3 separate regions of the Homo sapiens genome follow, and regions 1 and 3 are each linked to region 2. The links are contacts of gene promoters, found by promoter capture Hi-C in human tissues and cell types (Jung and others, 2019). All regions are on one chromosome and are shown on one strand. Each heading gives the region's core, a stretch centred on a gene start or on the middle of the fragment in contact. The rest is flanking DNA. Distances are from core to core; before and after follow the strand shown. Region 1 overlaps SCAI (suppressor of cancer cell invasion). Region 2 holds the start of PPP6C (protein phosphatase 6 catalytic subunit). Region 3 overlaps SCAI (suppressor of cancer cell invasion).

Evidence for each region. Contacts are between HindIII fragments. The study calls those that stand out against the background at their distance.
Region 1: a fragment that was not itself captured here is called in contact with the fragment with the promoter of PPP6C in region 2 in 2 of the 25 tissues and cell types used here (IMR-90 fibroblasts and dorsolateral prefrontal cortex).
Region 3: a fragment that was not itself captured here is called in contact with the fragment with the promoter of PPP6C in region 2 in 3 of the 25 tissues and cell types used here (IMR-90 fibroblasts, dorsolateral prefrontal cortex and mesenchymal stem cells).

Annotation. Positions count from the first base shown.
Region 1 is chr9:125,056,959-125,060,174 of GRCh38, reverse strand. The region is part of intron 2 of SCAI (suppressor of cancer cell invasion); the gene reads left to right. Among named protein-coding and RNA genes, the nearest start is that of SCAI, 85 kb to the left of the region's middle. The HindIII fragment of the contact is 7,319 bases long and covers 1-3,216 here.
Region 2 is chr9:125,188,341-125,191,461 of GRCh38, reverse strand. It overlaps PPP6C (protein phosphatase 6 catalytic subunit), which reads left to right and starts at 1,659. Exons shown (of 7, transcript NM_002721.5): 1 at 1,659-1,818. The coding sequence starts at 1,744. RefSeq lists enhancers at 1,382-1,461, 764-1,550, 1,551-2,337. The HindIII fragment of the contact is 9,567 bases long and covers 1-3,121 here.
Region 3 is chr9:125,026,984-125,030,439 of GRCh38, reverse strand. It overlaps SCAI (suppressor of cancer cell invasion), which reads left to right. Exons shown (of 18, transcript NM_001144877.3): 4 at 701-796; 5 at 1,962-2,048. Among named protein-coding and RNA genes, the nearest start is that of GOLGA1, 88 kb to the right of the region's middle. The HindIII fragment of the contact is 7,974 bases long and covers 1-3,456 here.

The DNA of each region.
Region 1 (3,216 bases), core at 657-3,156, 130 kb after region 2:
CCAAATAGTGACAAAAGGCTAATGACTACACTTTTGGACAGTGTGTGTCTAGATGGTGAGATAGACTTTTCAAAAAACAAATAATTGTTATATTTGTTCAACTCTTTGTGAAGTAACTGAAGAAGCCCCTACTGACTTGATCAGAAGTAGGTGCCAGGGAAAGATTTAGATTTTCAAGGAAAGTTTTACAGAAAAGTTGTCGTTTGAATGCTGTCTTCAACTATGAATATAAATTTGGTAGGTGTACAAAATAGGCCAGGGGAATAGCGTGTAAATCATGATGCTGTATAAGAGTAGGATTTGTTCAGAGGCTTTCAAGTATTTCCTTGTGGTCGGAGAATAGGTACGTGTGTGCTAGTGGAAGGTGAGACTGGAAAGATAGATTTTGAAGAATGTCAGATGCTAGTGATTCTTCACCAGTTCTTGTGTTATGAGTAATTTACCAGTAATGACAGTTAACCTCAGGATAAATTTTCTGCAGTGTAATTGATAGATCTCATAGAATGACCATTTAATGTCCCCTCATACATTCAGGGAAACTTATGGGTTTGAACTAATTTACACTGCCTCTAGCAACTATGCTGGTTTCAGTGCATGTTCAACTGCTATAATTAGTGTAGTTTTAATGTGCTCATTTTGCTGCATTAGGTTTGTATTTTGTTACTGTATTTTACTGTGTTTGTATTTTGTTCACCAATTCATCATTGGTGGTTGAACATTTTTCTTATTAACATTGAAATTTACTCCTGTCTAGTCCTTAGACCCCATTCAGGCCTTACCAGTTGTCTCAATAACATCCTTTACAGCAGAAGGATCCAGGGGAGAATCAGGCATTATACCTCAGTTTTCCCTTGTCTTTGAAGGAAAGTACTTGACATTTTTGAAGATTACAGGTTGGTTATTTTGTAGAATGTCCCCCAACTTGGTTTTGTCTGTTTCCTCATGATTAGACTCAGGCTACAGAACTTTGACAGGAACAGTACTTCTCATCGCATGGGACTTTGATTTGTCTGATTACTAATGATGTTCACTTTGATCATTTGATCAAGGCAGTGTCTGCTGGATTTTACTGCTGTGAAATTACTTTTTCCCTTGGAAGTAATGTGTAGTTTATGGGGGAAGTATTCTGAAACTATCCCATTCACTACCACACTTTCCATTTATTCACTCATTTATTTATATCTATATTGATTCATGATTTCTTATTTTGTTCAGTAGGTTATAATCCATTGCTATTACTATTGGTATTGATGCTGAAATTACCCTGTTTGGCCAGTGGGATCTCCTTCAAGCTTGATCCTATGTCTTTTTGACATTCTTTAGCATTCCTTGAGCACTTTCTTGCTTACTACCACAAGATATTCCAGATTGATCCTGTACTTTTTCTACCCCTGTGCTGTAATTAGTGAATTACAATTCTCCAGAGATGTCTGGTTCCTTTTATTGGAGAATGGTATTAGGGGCCAAGTGTTAGGTGCTAGAAACGTTCATACCACTGGGGAGGGAAGATGATCACTGCTCCAAGGCGCTCTCAGTAGATAGAATTACAGAGCTAGGGAGTATGCATCTGTGTGTGCTTATGTAGACACACACACCATGCATGTATGTCCATGTCTTCAGAAATCCATGAGTTCACTCATACTTACAGTTTATTTTTTTTGAAACGCAGTCTCGTTCTGTCGCCCAGGCTGAAGTACAGTGGCATGATCTCAGCTCACCTCAACCTCCGCCTCCCGGGTTCACGTGATTCTCCTGCCTCAGCCTTCCTAGTAGCTGGGGACTGCAGGCACACCCCACCATGCTGGGCTAATTTTTGTATTTTTTGGTGGAGATGGGTTTCACCATGTTGCCCAGGCTGGTCTCAAACTCCTGACCTCAAATGATCCACCCACCTTGGCCTCCCAGAGTGCTGGGATTACAGGCATGAGCCACTGTACCTGGCCCAGTTTCAATCCACAGAGTTCATTCTAACTTCTTCCATTTCCATATTTGCATCTCCCTTCTCTGCCAAGTGAGAACTCTGGGTCCCATTGCCTTTAATAAATCTTTTTTAAAAAAGAATTTTTTTTTTTTAAAGAAATGGGGTCTCATTCTGTCACTCAGGCTGAAGTGCAGTGGAGGGATCATAGCTCTCTGCACCCTTGAACTGCTGGCCTCAGTCGACTCTCCTGCCTCAGCCTCCTGAGTATCTGAGGTAGCTGAGTAGGCACCTGCCACCACATCTGGCTAATTTTTACATTTTTTGTAGAGACAAGATCTCACTGTATTGCCCAGGCAGGTCTCAAACTCCTAGCCTCAAGTGATCCTCCTGCTTCTGCCTCCCAAAGTGCTGGGATTACAGGCGTGAGCCACTGCATCTGCCCTTAATAGATCTTATTTGATCCTTCCCTCTTTATATAGCAAATCTCCCATTGCTGCTTTGAACCCTTCTATGTGGAGGTGCTCAGGCTCCTACTTTCCCTGCCAGTCCTCCACCCTCATGGGTGCCCTCCTCCTCCTCCACACTCGGCCTTCAACATCCTGTGCAAGCTGGCTCTGCCTGCGAATGGCCTCCTCACGTAGCTTATATTCCGACAACCATGCAGGTACCCTGTGATGTGGATACCCACTTGGTGGCTATAAGAGTGAATTTTTCAGGAAGGGAAGAGAATTCTGATTTCCTAAGTTTTACTTTAATGGTTCTAGCTGTGGGATTATTTTGACATTCTTTGAGTCCTTTCAATTTTAGGTGTTACATTTTCTCTAATTCTGGGAAATTTAGTCATTATTTCTGCAAATATTTCTTCACTCTCATTTGTGTTTTTCTCTCCTCCTGTGTAAGCTATTGTGTGGCAGTTGATTTCCCTCATTTCTCTATCTTATCTCTTGCTTTTTCTTTTATATATTTAATCTCTTTCTACTGTCTTTTGGCAGAGTACCCCAAATCTGATATTTTAGCTTATTTATTTGTTCAACTGTATCCTTTCTGTTCTTCAGTCCATCTATTAAAATTCATTATTTCACCAATTGTATCACATTATTTCAGTGACTATATTTTGTCTGCCTATTTTTACATCCTACACCAGGACCAAATTTTCCTGTTGTTCCAGGAATTTCTGTCTGTGTGTAAACACAAATCAGTTTTTAAAATTTAGGTTTGTATTGTACATACTGTCTGACAACTTACTGTTGTTTTCTGTTTTTACATGGCAGCTTTATGAAATTTATTACAAGTGG
Region 2 (3,121 bases), core at 410-2,909:
GTAACCTCTGGTTTCTTTTCTCTTTGAGATGGAGTTTCACTCTGTGGCCCAGGCTGGAGTACAGTGGCGCCATCTCAGCTCACTGCAACCTCTGCCTCAAGCAATTCAAGTGATCCTCCTGCCTCAGCCTCCCCAGTATTTTGTATTTTTAGTAGAGATGGGGTTTCGGCATGTTGGCCAGGCTGGTCTTGAACTCCTGACGTCAGGTGATCTGCCTGCCTTGGCCTCCCAAAGTGCTGAGATTACAGGCATTAGCCACCGCGGCCTGGCCAATAGGCACTATGTAACTATTAGTTTAATGAATGAAGAAATGAATGCTTGTGGGCATCATTCATTCTGCAACAAACTTCTAAAAATTAATTTTACTTTGAAACAATTTCATACTTTCAGAGGAGTTACAAGAATAATACAAAGAAGTTCACCCAGATATCTCATTCAGGGTTAGCCAATTGTCCACAAAATATACTTTAGAGAGCAAGAGGATTAATTCCAGGGTCTCTTGAGCAACAAATATTTATTGAGCGCCTGCTACTATTGGATTACATAACAGTCTCTTAACTGGTCTCTTAGCTATAGGCATTGCACCCCCACCCCTAGTCCCATACAGCAGCTCCTTTTACTAATTTATTTTTGAGGAGGATCTCGCTCTGTCGCCCAAGCTGGAGTGCAGTGCCGCGATCTCAGCTCACTGCAACCTCCGCCTCCCAACTCAAGCGGTTCTCCTGCCTCAGCCTCCAGAGTAGCTGGGACCACAAGCACGCACTACCGCGCCAGGCTAATTTTGGTACTTTTTGTAGCTACAGATAGAATAGAGATCTTTGTCTATTTTGTTCACGAAGTACTGCAAGCGCCTTGAGCTGTACCTGGCACATCTTTGTTGCTCAGCAAAGAGTGGTTGGATAAACGAACGCTGAAGGTATGCTAGTACCAGGTACTGTTCTCGGTGCTGGAGTTACAGCAAAAAACTCCCTGCCCTCGTGGGATTCTCACTGGAAGCATGCTTAAGCTTAAGCCATTTTTCAATCTTGACCCCACCATTTTGTTCCCTGTGAGATTTGGGGTGAACTGCAGTTTCCTAGCCTCACTTTCCTATCAATCGTTACGAAGATTAAAAGGAAAAATATCATTTGTATCGCATTTAGCATCAGAAATGCTTTAATAATATTCGTTTCCCTTCCTTTCAGGCTGGAAGACTGGGGCCTGACATCTCTGCCACAGGCTTAGGCGAGGTTTTCACAGGGACTTGGAAAGGTGCAAACGGTTACTACGGCCAGGCTTACCCAATTGTTAAGTGAAGATATTCTGGAGAGTGCTTAAAAGGGTTGGAAAAACAAACCAGTGAGTGGCTAGGACCACCTACTCCGCTGTTTTGCCTCGGAAAAGCCTCGCCGGCTGCCGGGAGGTGAAAGTCTGGAGGAACGGGAGGAAAAGAGAGGGGTGGCTGTCCACAACAGAAAACTACACATCCCAGCACCCCCGCGGCAGACGACTACGGGTCCCAGCAGGTTTCGCGGGGTGGACCGAAGCGGGCTCTCTTGGGGCCTGCAGTCGGGGTTCAGCCAGAGGGGGCGCCGGGCGTACCGACGTAGCGGGGAGAAACGGGTCGCGCTTTAACGGCGCTGCGCAGGCGCCACTCACGGGCCGGACGTGACGCAGGGAAAGTTCCGGCTTCGGCCTCCGCCGCTGCCGCCGCCGCTGCTACAGCCGCCGCCGCCGCTGTTGCCGCGGCTTGTTATTCTTAAAATGGCGCCGCTAGACCTGGACAAGTATGTGGAAATAGCGCGGCTGTGCAAGTACCTGCCAGAGAACGACCTGAAGGTGAGCCCTATTTGCGGGCTCGCCCCTTCCGGCTGTGGGGCGCCCGCCGGCCGGCCCTTCCTTTCTCCAGGACCCCCGCCGGGTATCCAGTCCAGTCGCGGTGGAGGGCCTCCCCCATTGCCAGTCGACCCGGTCCTACCCGGCGTCACGCCGAGGGTCTCGCGAGCCGAGTCGTCGAATGCTGTCCCGGTTGCCTCAGTGGGGATCCCGAGGGATGTCGCGGCCTCTGTCCCAGGGTCGCCCCTTCTGGCCTTCGGGCTGCCCCAGGACCCGCAGCTGTAACAGCTTTATTTAGAAGGCTCGGCTCCCCACCCCATCCCTGGGTCTCCCGCAGTCGGAGCCGAGCCCCCGCGGCAGTGCCCTCGGGATGGGGTCGCCTCCACCGGAGGTGACAGGAGCGCGGAGTGGCCGGCGTCTGACAGGAGATGCCACCGGCTACCGGAACGCGGCCTCAGTGTGTTTAGGTCTCTGAGGAAGGGGAAGGCGGTGGGCCCGAGTGGTTTGGTACTGGCGGGAGCGAACGTCAGGTCGTCCCTCTTCATTGCCACTCCTCCAAATTGCTTTTTAGGATCGTCGGTTTTGCTAATTCAGAGGTGAATCCCGTTTCTGAGTATGTTGTTGAGCTTACTGAAGTGGATAAAGTAGTTGGTTCTCAATAAATACAAATACTTTCTCCTTAACCCCTTCTTAACTCAGTATTTCATTTTCTTCGTTTTCTAAAGGAGGTGAGTTCCTTGTTACTCCTGAGTCCAAGTAAGAGTAAATGTATGTATGGGTAAAGGAATGACTTTGGTATACTGCTTTTCTTTTTTAAAACTTTTTAATTATTATTATTATTATTATTATTATTGTTTTTAACTGAGATAGAGTCTCACTCTGTCACCCAGGCTGGAGTGCAGCGGTGCGATCTTGGCTCACTGCAACCTCCACTTCCCGGGTTCAAGCGATTCTCCTGCCTCAGCCTCCCGACTAGGTGGAATTACAGGCGCCCGTCACGACGCCCGGCTGTTTTGTATTTTTAGTAGAGACGGGGTTTCGCCATGTTGGCCAGGCTGGTCTTGAACTCCTGACCTCAAGTGATCCGCCCGCTTCGGCCTACCAAAGTGCTGGTATTACAGGCGTGAGCCACCGCGCCGGCCTAGGTATACTGCTTCTTTGAAAAGTGTTTCTATGCATTTGCTGAAATCAGAGCTTAGGTTTCTAGCAGTGCTTATCAGCTCGTGCTAGTATTTAACCGACTCAGTGTATTCTTTTTTTTTGAGACGGAGTCTCGCTCTGTCGCCCAGGCCGGAGTGCGGTGGCA
Region 3 (3,456 bases), core at 488-2,987, 160 kb after region 2:
ACTGTTAAATGTGTCTTACTCAGTGTTCCAGGCTGAAGAACAGCCCTATCTTTGTCTTAGGTCAGAGGGAAAATTGAAAATGCTGAAACACTCAGTGCTCTTAATTTTCTCCTAAGATATGATATAAATAACTTACAATTATATTTCATTGGCCAAAGGAAGTTAATACGGCCAGGCCCAATGTTTGTATGGTAGGGAGTATTTGCCTCTCAAAGACTGTACTATAAGTCACCAGGTTCAAGGACAGGGATGTATATTTATCTTATAGGGAGAGGATAGAATAGTGCAGAACAGTAATACCATCTACATATCGATTTCTAGGTATATTTTCTAAAGCAGTGTTTTTCAAACATTCAGCTGAGTTCTTAGCTGAAGATAAACATTTGGAAGTTGTCAGTATATAAGTGAGTGTGAATAAGATCACCGAGGGAGAGGGAAGAGAGGACCAGAAACCTCATGGGAGAAGCATCTGCAAAGAACACTAAGAACGACCTGTCAGAGAAGTAGGGAGGAGAATAGGAAAAGAGCATGTCCTGGACCCTAGTTATAGAATTATTTCTGCTCCAAAAAGTGTAACTTTTTTAAAAAAGAAAGCCTGAATGCAAGCATTTTTCATCTGTCTGGTTTGTACCATCACAAGACATAATTTCCAAATAGAATAAGAAGTTTAATATTAATACATACTCATTTACTATTACAGAGATTTGCCACAATATGGACAGAAGCAGTGGCAGTCCTATTTTGGAAGAACTTTTGATGTTTACACCAAACTCTGGAAGTTCCAGCAGCAGCATCGGTAAATGAATTTTATAGTTAAAGGAGAGTGAAGGCCTGTTTTGTATTAGTCACAGTTTTTATCTTCACTACTTCAGTGCTTTTTGTCTTGGTGCTTTTTCTTTTTTTTCACCAACAAAGCAAAGGTAAATCTTGGTGCTTTTAAAATAACATATTTCATCTTTATAACCCAAATGAAAACAAATTTATTTCTTTCCTATTTATTTAAGATCTTAAAATGTATGGCCAGGCATGGTGGCTCATGCCTGTAATCCCAGCACTTTGGGAGGCCAAGGTGGGAGGATTGCTTGAGCTCAGGAGTTTGAGACCAGCCTTGGCAGCATGGCTAAACCCTATCTCTACAAAATACACAAAAATTAGCCAGGTGTGGTGGTGCTCAGCTGTAATCCCAGCTACTTAGGAGGCTGTGGCACGAGAATCGCTTGAACCCTGAAGTGGGGGAGGTTGCAGTGAGCAGAGATTGCATCACTGCATTCCAGCTTGGGCAACAGAGAGAGACCCTGTCTCAAAAAAGTAAATAAATAAATAAAAATAAATAATAAAATAAGGCTGGGTGCAGTGGCTCCTGTCTGTAATCCCAGCACTTTAGGAGTCTGAGGTGGGTGGATAACTTGAGGTTAGGAGTTCAAGACCAGCCTGGCTAACATGGTGAAACCCTGTCTCTACTAAAAATATAAAAATTAGTCGGGCATGGTGGTGCACACCTGTAATCCCAGCTATTCAGGAGACTGAGGCAGCAGAATTGCTGGAACCTGAGAGGCGGAGGTTGCAGTGAGCCCAGATCATGCCACTGTACTCCAGCCTGGGCAACAGAGCCACACTCTGTCTCAAAAAAGGAAAAAAAAGAGTAATGTTCTTGTCCGATTTTTAAAGACAATATTATATGTGGAATGGTTCAGATCAGCTAGAGCATAGGTAGGATGATTTATGGTTTCATTCTAAAATATATGTTTATTGGCCAAAGTAGTTTCTTTTTATATTTCAACTTATAAATAGACATTTAATAAATGCTTTTTAAATTTAATGGAATGACTACATTGAAATCTAATGAAAAATTCATTAGCTTTGCTGAATTGGATGGTATTTTATCCTATTGAATTTACAGATTTGATTAGTTTTGGAATTTATAGACTCATTTCTATTTTCTTGTATCCTATATAAAACAGACAAGTCTTGGATAATCGGTATGGCTTGAAGCGCTGGCAAATAGGAGAAATTGCTTCCAAGATTGGGCAGCTATACTATCATTATTAGTAAGTAAATTACACATGGAAAGAGTAAAGTGTTGTCTGATTAAAACACAGCATGCAGAAGTATACATACATAGTATACTCATTGCTAGGCATGAAAATCACGAGTTACAAATGAAACTCTAGTAGTTCGGACCAGATTGATCAAGACAATGTTGTGCAATAACCTTCCATAGTCAAAGTACTATTTGTTTTAAAGGCTTGCCTCCCAAACACTTCATTTGGTCAGACTCATTTATAACTTAAAAATTTGATCTTGGTTTTAGATAAACGATTAATACTAAAGGATTTATTGTTCTTGCAGCTTCACTTGTCTTAATAATGTGTAGCATTGTATTATAACTTGTATATGTGAATGAATGGTTTTCAGAAGGATACTTTAAAAAACTCATACTTGCAGGATATGTTTGAAAGATATTTTTTATTATATCCTTAGAGCACTAACATCTATATAGTCCCATCCCTGAGTTCAGAAAACAAGAAGGGTCCTTTTAGGAATCTAAATGTCATCATCCTGAAGTGATAATCAGGTATACAATAAAAAAGGCTTGGACCATTTGTAATCTAAAAGGCAATAAAATGGCTGGGCGTGGTGGCTCACGCCTGTAATCCTAGGACTTTGGGAGGCCAAGGCAGGTGGATCACCTGAGGTCAGGAGTTTGAGACCAGCCTAGTGAAACCCCGTCTCTACTAAAAAGACAAAAAAATTAGCCAAGTGTGGTGGCAGGTGCCTGTAATCCCAGCTACTTGGGAGGCTGAGGGAGGAAAATTGCTTGAACCTGGGAGGCAGAGGTTGCAGTGAGCCGAGATCATGCCATTGGCACTCCAGCCTGGGCAACAAGAGTGAAACTCTGTCTCAAAAAATAAAAAATTAGAAAAAAGAAAAGAAAAGAAAAGGCAATAAAACTTCTTCCATTTCCTACATTTTGGCATACCGCTCCAAATTCCCACCACTAAAATCACTCTCTTGGGTAGAATATTTTCTTAAAAAGTCCCTTGTAAAACTAGAAGTGTTTTCTCAGGTAGAAATGTTTTCTTAAAAAGTCCCTTGTAAAACATAATTCATTAACATCCCCTGAAGATTCGTATGGATTAGTGCATTCCTCAGTTCTGTGAGGACAGAAATTAAAGAAATGGGCCAAAGGACTGTATGGATTTGAGGAAGTGGCCTAGTCCTGGGAGAGGATTTCACTGGATGGAATGCTGTTTGGAGAGTCCCTTCAAAGAATGAGGATAATGTGTAATATGGGTTGGCATCAAAAAAGGCTTGGATGCAGCGAGGAGGTTTTTAAAAAAATTTCATTATTATTTTTTATACATTTTAAGGGTGATATGATTATTGTCTTGCCGATTCAAATTTAGGACAGTCATTCCCACCCCCGCACCCCGTGCCACAGAGGAATACAGCGGT